2 separate regions of the Homo sapiens genome follow, and region 2 is linked to region 1. Evidence: promoter capture Hi-C in human tissues and cell types (Jung and others, 2019). All regions are on one chromosome and are shown on one strand. Each heading gives the region's core, a stretch centred on a gene start or on the middle of the fragment in contact. The rest is flanking DNA. Distances are from core to core; before and after follow the strand shown. Region 1 holds the start of NRXN2 (neurexin 2). Region 2 holds the start of SLC22A12 (solute carrier family 22 member 12).

Evidence for each region. Contacts are between HindIII fragments. The study calls those that stand out against the background at their distance.
Region 2: the fragment with the promoter of SLC22A12 here is called in contact with the fragment with the promoter of NRXN2 in region 1 in 5 of the 25 tissues and cell types used here (IMR-90 fibroblasts, dorsolateral prefrontal cortex, lymphoblastoid cells and 2 more).

The regions. Positions count from the first base shown.
Region 1 is chr11:64,718,148-64,725,481 of GRCh38, forward strand. NRXN2 (neurexin 2) reads right to left here and starts at 5,050. Exons shown (of 23, transcript NM_015080.4): 1 at 4,824-5,050. RefSeq lists silencers at 4,930-5,224, 5,211-5,510 and enhancers at 5,891-5,940, 7,150-7,334. The HindIII fragment of the contact is 11,757 bases long and covers 2,867-7,334 here.
Region 2 is chr11:64,585,734-64,593,140 of GRCh38, forward strand. SLC22A12 (solute carrier family 22 member 12) reads left to right here and starts at 5,487. Exons shown (of 10, transcript NM_144585.4): 1 at 5,487-6,225; 2 at 7,046-7,149. The coding sequence starts at 5,824. The HindIII fragment of the contact is 41,401 bases long and covers 1,778-7,407 here.

The DNA.
Region 1 (7,334 bases), core at 3,800-6,299:
GCCCTCCAACCTGACCAAAGGCCTCAGCCCTACGCCATCAGGGGCAAGTATGCAAATGGTGATCCATGCCCACACAAGCAGAGCCCCTGGCCAGGGGCCCTCTCCCCGCATCCACACAGCCCCCTCTCTGTCAATGCCCACACACACAAACACACGCCCATACACACACCTCCAGCCATGGGGATGCCGGCCTCCCTCTGGCTCTCCTCTCCTCACGCCAGCATCCTCTCATGCCAGCTGGGAGTGAGACAGCAGGGGCCTCCTCCAGGCGCCAGGGAGGAAGAGCTGGGTTTACACACATTCTGGTGGCCCCAGAAGGCAGCCCGTGGACAGGTGGGAGAAGTGCGTGCTATGGGGGGAGATTCTGGCTCAGGCTAAAGAGAAACTTGCTGGCTGGCAATCTAAAGCATCCAACAGTGGAGTAGGCTGCCTCGGGGGGTGGTGAGTTCCCCGTCTGTGGGGGTGTTCGAGGTGAGACCGGATGACTGCTGCTCAGAGAGGCTCGGTGTGGGGGAGGCTCTTGAATCATATGGAAGAGGACAGCAGACTGCTTGACCCCTGAGGTCCTTTTCAGGTGCAGAATGTTTTTTGGAGGGTCCCCTTTCCCCCGTGAAATTCCAGGCAAGATTGGCAGACGGTGAACAGTTCCTACCTCCCCCTTCCTTCCAGCCGTGATGATCTGGCAGAAAAAAGGGAAGACCCCATGCCTTTCCACACCCAGCCACAACCTCAGCAGCAGCAAAAACAAGACAGCACAGTGGTTAGAGGCACTGGCTCTGAAGCCTGGGTTCAAATGCCAGCTCTACCCCTATCCAGCTGTGTGACCTTTGGTAAGTTACTCAGCCTCTCTGTGCTTCACTTTCTTTATGTATAAAATAGAGATAATAATAGTGTTGTCAAAATTAGAATTAACATACATAAAGCTCCTAGTACACTGCCTGGCATAGACTAACGTGTGAAAAAAAAGTGTGTCGTATTAATGATTTTTTTAAAACTTCTCATCTCGGCCTTTTACAGTTTGCAGTACCGAGTGCCTAGTGTTTCCTCTGATCCTCACCAGGGCTTGGTGAGAAAAGTAAGCAAGACAAGTATTATCACTGCCCCTTTTACAGATGAGGAAATAGATACTCAAAGGGGAGAAGGGACCCACCCAAGGTCCCACAAATCATAAATGGCAGAGCTGGGATTCAGATTTGGTTCTGTCTAATCCCTATCCCTCGTGTCCTCCTCAACTCTGCTGGTCAATTGTCCTGACTCAGAGGGCAGTAGAAGGAACAAACAGGTCTAAAGATAAGTCGGAGTCCCATGCCAGGGTGGGCTGGGCATGAGCGGCCATGTCTGCAGGTCGCCAAGCAGCTCTCTGTGTCATGGAGAGAAGCATGGAGCGGGCTGGGCCCAGGAGCTGGTAGCTCGGGGTGCACAGGATGAGGCTGCTGCCGCCTCATGGAGCTGGGGAAGCGGGTGGGCTGGGGACAGAGGTGCAATGGAATGACTTGGTGGAGTGGGGGCCGGAGGACAGGTGCATGGGAGCATGGAGGTAGGTGGTGGGAGGGATGAGCACCAAGCTTACCTATGCTGTGCACAGCTGGGGCACAGCAGCCTGGGCGGGTGCACCCCAGTGATGCAGAGGGGGACAGATGGCTTCCAGGGGCGGCCTTGTGAGTAAGCATGAGGTGCCTGGGAATGTTCCTAAAGGTATCTATGACAGGTGTGTGCGCGTGTGTGTGCGTGCAGGGAAGGTTATGATAATGACAATAAAAATAGCTACCATTTACGGGGACCTTCTATGTGTCTTACAAATACCTCAAAGTAAGGTTTACAGAGTGCTTCGCACAAGGCCAGGCACACAGTAGGTACACAATAAACATGCTTGTTACTACTATCATTGCCATCATTGTCCTCTCAGTGAGTCCTCATAACATCCCACTAGGTAGGGATGAGGATCCCATTTCACACGTGAGGAAACTGAGGCTCACTGAGGAGCACAGCGGAGTCCCACCTTCACCCTCACCCCACCATGCCAAACAGTGGTGGTGGCAGTGGGGAAGCAGCTTCGTAAATAACAAGGTGCCACACACATCCTTGAAAGTGTGCACCAGACTATTTGTTGAATGAGTCTCCGAGAGCCCACAGGCCCATCAGTGTGGAAGGGGCAGGGGCGAGGGAGCTGCACCAACAGATGGAGCAGCAAGGTGGGTGGCGTGTGAGGACACACAATCGGGGCATCCCCGTGGGGGCTGGGCTTGGGAGCTGCGAATGAAAGGACAGTGTCTCCAGTGCACAGGCAGGTGTAGGGGCCCTTGTGCCTGAGGATTAATGCGGGGGGTGGGGCCACTTAGAAATGGGAAGGCTCCCAGGGAAACCAGGTGTAGGTGGGGGCTGGACTCCACTGGGAAGGGTCGTGGTTGTGGCCAGGAGGGGTAGGAGGCCCTGCGCCGAAGGTACAAAGATAAGTGAGTGAGAGAGAGAGAAAGTAGAAGAGAGGTTTAGGGGGTGAGCCACAGCATTAAGTGTGTTAGCAAACATGTGCTGGTGTGCACACACACGTGCACACACACAAAGGCCTGGGGCAAGGTGTTCAGCACCCAGACAGACATGCACATGGTACTTCAGGATGAGCTTGCTGGGGGGCAGGGACTGGTGTGTCTGGGAGGGTGTGCCCACATGCTGTGTAGACCTGGGAGGGATGGGGTGTCTGGAAGGAGAGGGTGTGTTGCAAGGACTGAAGGTGTATGAGGAAGAAGCACAGGTGTGCCTGCGATGGCTGTGAGCCTGGGGAGGTGAGTGGTTGGATGGGGGCTGTGTGCATCCAAGGGTGAGGGCTGGCAGTGCTGCGCTGGGGGCTCTGGGGGCACGTAGTGGCCGTGTGTGTGTTGTGTACATGGCAGCAAGGCACCTGGGGGAGGTCTCAAGGAGGCAGGCATGAGGTGGCAGCCTCTCTGGGTGGGGAGTGTGGGCTGTATGCTGCCAGGAGGTGTATTGTGTACGCAGGTGTGTGTGCCTGTGTAGGTGTGTGTCTGGGTGGGTGCCACCGAGCGCGTGTATCATTGTCAGAGTGTCTGTGTCACTGGCAAGGGTAAGCGGGAGGGAGCAGCTGGACCTGGGTAGTGACTGAGCCTGGAAGGAAAGAGGGGTCCCCACCAGCCACTCGCGCACCCAGCCCCTCCTCTCAGAACTCCAATGTCATATGGATTCAGCCCAGGCCTGGGCTGGAAAGAACTGCCCGGCAGCCGTGGCTGGTTGGTCCATCCCGCCCACCCCTGTGGATCTGAGGATAGGATGGGTCTGAGAACACTTCCTCTAGCATGAATGAAGAGCCCCCAGCCAGACCCTTCTCCCCTGTCTCCCAAAAGATCCAGCCACACCTCAGATGCCAGCATCCCTAGAGCCATCCCTGGAAGCAAGAGGAGGTAGGGACTGAGGGGCTGAAGCACCCACAAAACAGAAGGCCTCACAGTTAGCAGACTGCAGACCTCCCTCCCCTTCTCCTTCCCTCTCCCTTCTTTCTTTCTCCTTCTCTGGCAGAAGACAGAGAAAGTAAGACCCTAATGTCCACCCTCCTCCAAAAGGAACACCCAGACACTGGGAAGGTAGACAACAGGGAAGGATAAGAATGAATGGAAGAGGAGAGACGCCCACCCGCCAACACATGAAAAAACAGGGCTATCTGGAAGCCCCCAGGGCAGCCAAGGGACTGGGGACCCAAGACCCACCCCCTAAAAATCTATTTCATTATTCCAGGTGGACAGCCTCCTCCTTCACCTCCAGACACCAAGAAAAAGCCCCTCCCAGCCCTTGCTAGCTCAATGAGGCATCGAATGCCCTCTCCCAAGATTCAGGAGGGGGGTGAGAGTAAAGGAGACAACAGCACCCCAAAGCCAATTGTGCCCCAAAAGCCCATCAAGGGTTCAAGGGCTCATACCCCAACCCAAAGACCCCAGGGAAGATTGCTGCTTCAGCTGGGGGAGGAGGCTGGGACATGAGAAATGGTCCCTTCCTCTTTAGGGGTGGGGGAGCAAGCCAAGGGCCCTGCAGCTTCCTCTCCCCCTGCAGCACTCTCTGACCAGAACCCTGTCACCGCCCCCAGCGCATTCCCACCCCAGCAAAGCCCCCTCCTACTGATTTCCCAGTCTCCCTGTCTCATCACCCCCAGCCTTCCCCCGCAAGCTTCCGCTCCTCTCCCTCAGACCCCATCTTTCCCAGCTCTCCACCAGCACAGACCCATCTCTGCCTGGAGCACCTTGGCACATTCCCCTCTGCTCTCTCCCAATAACCTCTTCTCCCCTTGGCTCCCATCCCCCAGGAAAGCCTGGTCCTCAGTGGGTCCCCTCAGGACGAAGCCCTTGGCCTGGCCCCTTTCCTTCCCTCTCCACTTCTCTCTCTTCTCCAGCCCCCTCTCCTCTCCTCCCACGAAGCCCAGTTTCTCGCTGGTTAGACCCTCCAGAACACAACAGCTCCTCTGGCCCGGCGCTGCTTCAAGCCTCTGGGGCTAGCACAGACTGGGGACCCCCCTTTAAGAACCCCCTCTAAGTCCTCTGGATGCCCCTCCTCTCTCCATCCCTTCCCCCAAAGACCCTTCCTCCCACCCCTCCCCATTCTCCTCAGCTCTCAGGGCCAGTGCCCCTTCCACAGGAGCCTCCGACCCCCAAGCCCCCAGCGGCTTTGCCTCCTCGCTGTCACCGGGCCAGCCCTCTCAGCGCGGCGCCCCCGCCCCCCAATTCATCCGTCCTGCCTCCCTCGCCCCCTCCGATCCGCTCCCCTCCCCCGATCGGCTCCCGCCCCCCGCCCGTCTCCGCCGCAGCGCCCCCCCCCCCCCATTTTACCTGGTTCTCGGGGCGCCAGAAGCTGGAGGGTGGGTAGCAGAGCTACAGGGCCGCCCCGTCTCCGACGGGTGGCAGAGCCAGGGCTAGCGGTGTCTGCCGCCTCGCGCCTCTCTCCCTCCCCGCCGCGTCCCCGCCCGCCCGCCCGCCCCGCCGCGGTGCCTCTCCGAGGAGGATGCTCCGCGAGTCAGGGCGGCTGCTCCCGCCGCCGCATCCCTGCAACACCGACTGACGGCAGCATCAGCACCAGTGCCCGCCCCCGAGACGCGCGCATTGGACCACGCTGCGCTGACGGGCGAGCAGCGCAGCCAATGCAAGGGCTCAGAAGCCGCCAGTCCAGCGGCTCCACAGGCCCACTCCCTCCCTCGCGCGGGACCCAGGCGTCCCGGCCCCAGCACCCGCGCTCCTCCCAGCCTCTCGAGGTTCTCGGGCGCCCGGGCCCCCAACCAGGCGGGCCCCAAACCCGGCCTCAGTGTCTTTTCCGGGAACCCAAGCACTCTCGCCCCTCGCCCCTCGCCCCTTAGTTCGGGGCCTTGGGTCCCGCACCCTCCCCCCACGGCCAGCAGGTCTTCGCGCAGCGCGGGGCTGGGACAAGCCGAAGGAGAGGCTGTGGACCCCGACTTGGGACGCCGCGAGAGCAGGGCTGATGCGGGGCCTGGGCCGCAGCGCCCTCTGCTGGCTACCCCCAGGGGCGGGCCCGGGCTTCGAGGAGCCTAGAGAAGGGGGACTCGGTGGGTCCATGGCTGCTGGGGGCTTTTTCCAGTCGGTAGCCTGGCCCCCACCTCCCACCGTCCGGAGGGCCCCTGGCTTGGAGCCCCCAGAACTGAAGAGGAAGGGGCTTTGCTGGGATAAAGACGGAGGCGGTGGGGGAAGGAAAGGCAGAGATGGGGGCGGGGTAGACCTAGGAACTTGGGGGTTTCCCAGTCCTGCCTCATGGGAATCCCAGAGTTTGAGGCCAAACTCTCAGTTCTGCCTGGAACCCTGGACCGAGGTACGAGTAGGTGTGGGGGCAGGGTTGCGCCTGCACATGCCTGGTGACTGAGGGCACCTGGCAGCAGCCCCCTTCTCTGTTCTCCTCCTCCCATCCATGAGTTTCAGTTAGAGTGGTGCTGGGGGGCGCAGGTCTCTCCTGTAAGGGTACATGCATCACTGTGCATGTGTATGAGTGTGGGGGACTGGGGGACACCCTTCACTCACTCCGCCAATAAAAGTGTACACACACTGGCACTTAGTGTGTATACCCCGAGGTTGGTCACTGGGCTGCTGAATGAGACAGTGAGAGACAGAGTGTGTGTGTGTATGTGTGCCAGACCATTCTGCCAGCTCACTCCAGGACCCTGGTTTCTGTTGCAGGGTCTGTGATCTGCACAGCTGGTGGTAGTTGGCACTTCCTTAGCCAGAGGCAACATGCAAGAACACTTACATTCAACCACCAATGCATGGACATTGGGGCACTCACAGCCATGCACACATATCTGTGAACACTGGGCATTCCCAGAGACACATAAGAACACCTGCAGAAATGCCCCACCATGGTAACACACCCACAGGAAGCATATACTGCCCAAGAACACACACACTTGTGCACACAGGTACCTACACCAGGCAATTAATGCATGCCCAGAACAGCTGCACCCAGGGGACCTGCCCACAGTCATCCTGGACCCCTGCCCAGGCACTTCAAAGAGAGTGGTCAATTACTGAGTGGCTTAATGCGGACACCAACCCCCCGGGTGGGAAACTCCTTCCCCAGCCTGTGAAGGGGTAAGAGGGGGACCCAGGCTGCAAGGAGTTTTTCCTAGGAGTCGAGAAGGGTGATCCCTAAGCCAGGTCCCAGACTTAGGGCCCACTCTGACCTTGGAGAGACCCCCAGGGCATCCCCACCAAAGCCAATGAAGGAGCCAGAGAATGGAACTGCTGCGTCAGGGCCTATGAATGCGAAATCGCCTCCCTGACCCCACAGCCCACTTTCCTGCCCATCCCCCACTGTTCCTCTTCCTGCAGCCTCCTCACACTCACACACACACACACACACACACACACCCCTTGTCCATCCAGGCATCAGGGCATAGACAGACAGATGCAATGGCTCACAGAGACAGACTCAGACCCTTACAGAGGAGCCTGGGCAGGGAGGGAGGTAAGTATGAGCACTTGTCTCCTTTCCCTACCCCCAGCTTTGCCCATCAAGGGCAGAAAAGGTCACCGGGCAGCTGCTGCATCTCCCTGTCCCTCCCACCTACAGGGACATCTCTCCTCTCTGCAAGGTCCAAGGTTCAGATTGCCTAAGCATTTGGGACCTGCCACTTCAAGACACACCCCACACACACACACACCACACACAGGTACCCACCCAATGTGGACAGTTGAGTGATATGCTGAGCACATGCCCTTCTCCCATGTGCAAAGGCCAGTGGGGACACATGGGGGAGGGGAAACACAGCAGATACAGCATGCATGTCCATGCACACACATGCACACAGGCGCATACAATGTGAAGCTCAGACACCAAAT
Region 2 (7,407 bases), core at 4,237-6,736, 130 kb before region 1:
TAATTTTTTGTATTTTTAGTAGAGACAGGGTTTCACCATGTTGGCCAGGCTGGTCTCGAACTTCTGACCTCAGGTGATTCACCTGCCTCAGCCTCCCAAAGTGCTGGGATTACAGGCGTGAGCCACCGCGCCCGGCCAAGGATGTGACATTGCTGATTGACTCTGTCAGATACTTTTCACTCTGGCTTCCGGGGCATCCTGCTGTCCTGGTTTCCAGGCCTCACTGGTTTTGCCTTCACAGCTCTTTTGCTGGGTCATCCTCTTACTGACCTCTCAACATCAGAGACCAAAGGCTCCATCACAAACGTCATCTCTTTGCTATGAAAGCTTGCACCCTACGTGAGCTTATCCAGTCCTGTGACTTAAAATGCCTTTTATCCCCTAATTATTCCCAAGTCGCTCCATGATGCCACCACCTGGATGGCTAATAGACATGTCAATATCATCACACAAAAAAAGATTTATTTTCCCATCAAACTTGCTTCTCCCCGAGTGTTCTGCTTCTCTGTAAATGGCCCACCATCCACCCACCACCCACCTGATCATCAGTTTATCCTTTTTCTTCACCCTCGGCCCTGTATTTAGTCAAAGAAAAGCAATATGCCCCAAACCCAAGCATTTCTCTCCACCTGCCCTAATCCCCTAGCCCTGACCCTCATTGCTCACATGATCCACCCCAACAGCCTCCTGGGGGAACCCCTTCTTCTATATTTGTCCCATTTTCAGTCTGTTCTCCACACAGCAGCCAGGGAGATTTGTAAAAACATTAGTCAGATCATGCCACTTCTCTCCTCAAAACCCTATAAGGAAGTGTATGTTTTGGCCCCAAAACTGCTCTACTTTTCCCACTCACTTCTCCCCAACCATACTGGCCTCCTTCCTACTTCTTGAGCATAAAATCACATGCCCACCCCAGGGTCTTTGCATAATACTCTTCCCTCTGCCTGCAATATTCTTTCCCCAGTCAACTGTGTGTCTTGTCCCCTCATCTACTTGGGTCTCTTTCAATGCCACCTCCACAGAGAAGTCTTCCCTGACTGCCCCACCCAAAGTGGCAACATGATCCTTACTCTCTGCCCCTTATGCTATCTTGTTCTCTCCACAGCATGATTACTACTTGTCACTATATTCATTTATTTCTTGATGTGTTTCTCCTCTCTCATTGGCATGTCTTTCTACATATCAATGAGAACAGGGAATTATCTTGTTTGTTCACCGCTGCATCCCTGTGCCTAGAGCAGTGGCTGGTGCATTATCAACACTCAGCTCAACAAATGAATATTGATATTAAGAAGAAAGACACTCTTCTTTTTTTTTTTTTTTTTTTTTTGAGACAGAATCTTGCTCTGTCACCCAGGCTGGAGTGCAGTGGCGTGATCTTGGCTCCACTGCAACCTCCGCCTCATGGATTCAAGCAATTCTCCTGCCTCAGCAACCCTGGTAGCTGGGATTACAGGTGTGTGCCACCACCTCTGGCTAATTTTTGTATTTTTACTAGAGGCAGGGTTTCCCCATGTTGGCCAGGCTGGTCTCAAACTCCTGACCTCAAGTGATCCACTCGCCTCGGCCTCCCAAAGTGCTGGGATTCCGGCCGTGAGCCACCACGCCTGGCCCAAGAGAAACACTCGTAATATCCACTAAGAGATCAAGGAAATTATTCCACCTATGAAACAAGAAGTGGAAACTAGGAAACAAGAAGAAGCAGTTATAGGAAGAACCAAACACGGATTCTGAAATGGAAATTACACATTCTGAAATTAAAATGCTGGTGATTTGGGGCTGGGTGCAGTGGCTCATGCCTATAATCCCAGTACTTTGGGAGGCCGAGGTGGGCAGATCAGTTGAGGCCAGGAGTTCGAGACCAGCCTGGCCAACATGGTGAAACCCCATCGATATTAAAAATACAAAAATTAGCTGGGCATGGTGGCACATGCCTATAGACCCAGCTACTTAGGAGGCTGAGGCATGAGAATTGCTTGAACCTGGGCAGTGGAGACTGCAATGGGCCAAGATGGCGCCACTGCACTCCAGCCTGGGCAACAGAGCAAGACTCTGACTCAACTTAAAAAAAAAAAAGTGGAGAAAGCTGCATGAGAAGCATTTTTTTGGGAGAGCTCAGCTTTGGCCACACTAAGTGTGAGATGTTTATTAAGCACCTAAGATTAGGCAGTTGGATCAAAATCTAGCATTCCAAGAAGAGGTACAGGCTAAAGATGTGAATGGACCAGATGATAGAGAATATAGAGAAGACCAAGGAGTGAGCTCAGTGGCCTCCAATGTTAACAGTGTGTGGAGAAGAGGAAAACCCAACCAAGAAGATTGAGAACTAGTGAGTCCTGGAGGCCCAGGGAAGAAAGTATTCTCAGATGGAGATCAGAGACAGATGGCTCAAGTAAGATGAGGACTGAAAATGTCATTGAATCTAGCAGCATGGAGGTCATTGGTGACAGCAGAGTGATAGGGGCAAAACCTTGATGGGAATGAATCCAAAAACAAACAAAAAAATGGGAAGACAGAAACTGGAAATGAGTGTCAATAATACTTTCATAGAATTTTGTTGTAAATACAAGCAAAGGTGGGGCAGTCGCTTAAGAAGAAAGAGGGGCTCAAATGGAGGGGGAGTTTTTGGAAGGCTACAGAAAAAAATGGCATATTTGTACATTGGTGGAAATTATCCAGTAGCGAGGGAAAGACAAATGCCAAAGAGAGATGTGAGCAGGCAAAGGGGGGTGGGCTCTAGGCACACAGTGAGGGGTTGGCATGGATGAGAGAGAAACCAAACTGGGTGGAAGGAAGGCAGAATGTGGGGGCACCAAGGCAGGTGAGCTGGTGAGAGAATTAGACTGTTGGCTTCTGATGGCTTCTATTGTTTTAGTGAAATAAGAAAAAAGGTCATCTATTGAGAGAGAGGATAGAAGAGAAGGTGGTAGGTTTGAAGAGAGAAGATGGTATCAAATAACCCCTGGTTTGTGTGTTCAAATATAAGGGTAACAGAAATAAAACGTACAACTGACAGACCAAGACAGTAGAAGAATATAACAAGAAAACTTAATGGATTCAGTAGAAATTAGGAACAAGGAAACCAAGATTTAAAGGGAAAATGTGGTAAACAAGAAAACATACAGTAAGTCCAAACATGTCAATAATTACAATAAATGTGAACAGGTTAAAATCGCTAATTAAAAGGCAGAGGTATTTCTTTTGGATTTTACAAAAGGAAATGTAAAGCTTATTTGGCAGCTCAAGCTGATGAAGCTAAACATATCAGTTACTAAAACAAAGTCTGCACATATTTACACCAAACTGTAAACAGTAGTGTAACTCACTGGTTGATGAGTATATGAGGGATCTTTATTTTCATTTCAATATGTTCTGAATTTTTGAGGAAGTGTGTAAATTATTTCATAATTAGAAAATAAATGAAATTTTTAAAAAAATCATCCATGCACTTCAGCAAGTCTCCATGGAACCTTTATTTGTTGTCCAAATCAGTTCCAAAGAGCCTCTAAAGAAGGGTTCCAGACTACCAGGAGCTCACTGGAAATAAGACCAACTGGACCATAATAGAAGAATGCAGGTCATGGCTGGGTGCCGCAACTCACACCACTTTGGGAGGCCAAGGCAGGCAGATCACCTGAGGTCAGGAGTTTGAGAAGAATGCAGGACAGTGTAAAGATGAGATTCCACTGACAACTCTGAGCCCTAGTTGTAGGCAGGAATAAGTGAAGAGAGCCCGCTGGAGGAGGAGTATTTGGACTGTGCCCATTCCACACAGTATGTGGCCTAAGGGTGAGCCTGGAGACAGCATTCCAGGCTGGAGGTCCAACATAAGCAAGGGTGGGAACTGAGAAAGCATGTACAGGGCATGTGGTGGAAGCAGTGGATGACTCAAGGTGCAGAGCCCAGGGAGGCAAAGAAGTTGGCTTGGTAAGCCATGTGGAGGGGCAGCGGGAAGAGTCGGTGAAGCAAAAAGAAGCAGATGGGAGGGGCATTTATGCCTCAAATGGAGAGTTTTATGCCCAAAGCTCATAAGAGCAAACACCTGGGTTGCCATCACTGCTGCACTGCACATATACGCATGCACACATGTACACACATGCACTTGTGCAAACACATGTGCACACATACACAGACATGTGCACACACCCACATATACATACACTTCTTTTTTTTCTTTTCTTTTTTTTTTTTTTTTTGAGATAAGAGTCTTTCTCTGTCAACCAGGCTGGAGGGCAGTGGTGCAATCTCAGCTTGCTGCAACCTCTGCCTCCTGGGTTCAAGAGATTCTCCTGCCTCAGCCTCCCAAGTAGCTGGAATTACAGCTGTGCACCACGACCATGCTCAGCTAACTTTTGTATTTTTAGTAGAGATGGGTTTTTGCCATGTTGGCCAAGCTGGTCTTGAACTCTTGACCTCAAGTGATCCCCCCACCTCGGCCTCCCAAAGTGCTGGGATTACAGGCATGAGCCACCACGCCCGGCCATGCACACACACTTTTTAACTGCTTTGTGTTCTCTGGCCCTTTCGCCTACAGAATTAGCTATCGAGACCAAGGGGGTTCTCTTGGCCTCGGTCCAGCCTTTCCTGAACCCCACACCCTGCATCAGCACACACTGCTGTCCACTCACCTGCCCTAGTAAGTCACCACTAGCTGTTGTTGACTGGGAGCCCCTTGGCTTTTAAGCAGGATTTGACCCAAGGGCTCGCAGTGCGTGGTGGGTCCAGGGGCAGGAGTTGAGGCAGAAAGACAAGGGCAGGGACAGCTGTGGAGTGGGGGAGGTGGGAGAGAGAAATCCTTAGGAGGCAAAACTAGCCAGGCTTGGCCCCTGGTGGATTTGGGAGGCAGGGAGCAGGAGGCGTGAACCAAGACGCTGGGTTCCAGGCCAGACACTGTGACATGAGAGGCCATAGCTGAGGTGGGGCTCTGCAGGAGGCATAGATTTGGGGAGGGGACAGAGATCTCAGGGTGGCATTGGGCACACCGAACCTGGGGAGTCTGTGGGGTGTCTGTTGATGCTGGGAAGCTCCACCGAGGACTCAGGACAGGGTAACAGCAAAGCGGGCACAGGACGCCAACCACAGCAGGTGAGTGGAGGCAGGAGCCACGGGTGGGGCCAGGCCACACAGCCTGGGAGGCGCAGGGGCTGGGCAGCTGCCAGTGACCCAAGCCCACACAGAGACTTGCACAGCTGCCCCAGCCCCAAATTAGGGGGATCCCCTGGCCCACCTTCTCTTGGCTCAGCCACTCTGGGAGGTGGGCACACAGGGGCACCGAAGGGAGCAGGCAGCCCTGGCATCCCACAGCCGCCAGGAGAAAAACTTAGGCCTCCCCAAGACCTGGCACAGAGCAGGCCGGCCCTGGCCCCCAAGCAGAGGAGGCTGCACCTCCCTCGCGTCTGTGCCTGCCTCAACGCGGGTTAAACTTTGACCAAGGAAATGATTGCTAAACTCGATTCCATAAGTGTCACCGGTCACACTTTAATTCCAGTCTAAAATTAAAGTCTTCAGTCTCCACATTCCCTACTTTCCAAATTCAGCTTTCCCGGGAGGTCTGGAGCAGCTGCCTCTCTGGGGAGATGCTGGAGGTCTCGGAATCACCTCACGCGGCCTCAGGGCCCAGTTGGAGCCACCCCAAGTGACACCAGCAGGCAGATGACCAGAGAGCCTGAGCCTCCGGCCCCGAGTCTGTGAAGCCTAGCCGCTGGGCTGGAGAAGCCACTGTGGGCACCACCGTGGGGGAAACAGGCCCGTTGCCCTGGCCTCTTTGCCCTGGGCCAGCCTTTGTGAAGTGGGCCCCTCTTCTGGGCCCCTTGAGTAGGTTCCATGGCATTTTCTGAACTCCTGGACCTCGTGGGTGGCCTGGGCAGGTTCCAGGTTCTCCAGACGATGGCTCTGATGGTCTCCATCATGTGGCTGTGTACCCAGAGCATGCTGGAGAACTTCTCGGCCGCCGTGCCCAGCCACCGCTGCTGGGCACCCCTCCTGGACAACAGCACGGCTCAGGCCAGCATCCTAGGGAGCTTGAGTCCTGAGGCCCTCCTGGCTATTTCCATCCCGCCGGGCCCCAACCAGAGGCCCCACCAGTGCCGCCGCTTCCGCCAGCCACAGTGGCAGCTCTTGGACCCCAATGCCACGGCCACCAGCTGGAGCGAGGCCGACACGGAGCCGTGTGTGGATGGCTGGGTCTATGACCGCAGCATCTTCACCTCCACAATCGTGGCCAAGGTAGGGCCTCCCCCAGAGCCACTCGAGTCCCACCACCTTGGAGGTCAGTCATGGATCACGGTGGGTCAGACTCAAAGGTCCAGTCCTGGGAGGGACCCACCTCCCCAGGCCCCACTCACTCTCGAGCCTCTCAGCCCCTCGTCAGCCACACACAGGGAAGTGGGCGGCAGGGATCAGTCTACAAATGGGGCCAGCCCAGGCTCTTGGAGGTGCGGGGGGCACCTGGGCGGGCACCTCTAAATGCTGGCACCTGGACACTCACCGGCCTCACCCTGTCCTGGCCCTGCTGACCTGTCAGCCGTGACTCCAGGCAACTCAGCAGCAGGGGGACTCAGTGACAATTCACTGGATTCCCCGAGACCAAAGCACACAGAGTAAGGGATTACCCCAGGCTGCCTCCCAGATGGGGCGCCAGGCAAAGCCAGGCAAGCAGAGAGGGGCAGCTCATCCCAACAAGTGGGAAGAACCTCTTTATAAAGAACAGGAGGGAAGCAACCTCTGGGAGAGGGGTGAGGGTGTCAGCTTGGGTGGCTGCTTCCAAGTGGAGAGACAGGAGAGAGGGGCAGATGTGGCTAGAGACCCATTGGGCAATAGGGAGCCATGGAAGAGTTCAGGCAGAGGGTGGCAGGATATACTCCTCAAAAGGCCAAACTATGCCTGTGGGTGCCCTCACTGTTCCACAGGGTCTTGCTCTAAAACCCTAGAGGTCACCAGACCACCCACCGCACCCAGCTCCCTGGGGGCCCTCCCATGCGGTTCCTCTGCCTCTCTGCTGGGGCTCTCCCAACCTCCTGAGCTCAGCCTCCTCCTCTCCCATCAGTGGAACCTCGTGTGTGACTCTCATGCTCTGAAGCCCATGGCCCAGTCCATCTACCTGGCTGGGATTCTGGTGGGAGCTGCTGCGTGCGGCCCTGCCTCAGACAGGTGAGTACCCCCAGTCCAGGCAGGTCCCAGTTCCCCTCACAACCCCTGCTCTCCTAGGACCCTGGCCGACTGGCCCCAAACCAGCCTCACAAAACCAAGTCTAGAAAGCGCCCTACTTGCTGGGTGTGGGTCTCGGACCAGCCACCCTGCAGCCGTGCCAGGTAGGGAGGTCTGGAACCTTCTCTGAACCTCGAGTTCACCAACTTTACTCTGGGGGTTGTAGAGGATTTCTGCTCCCCAGCAAACATTCACTGCTAA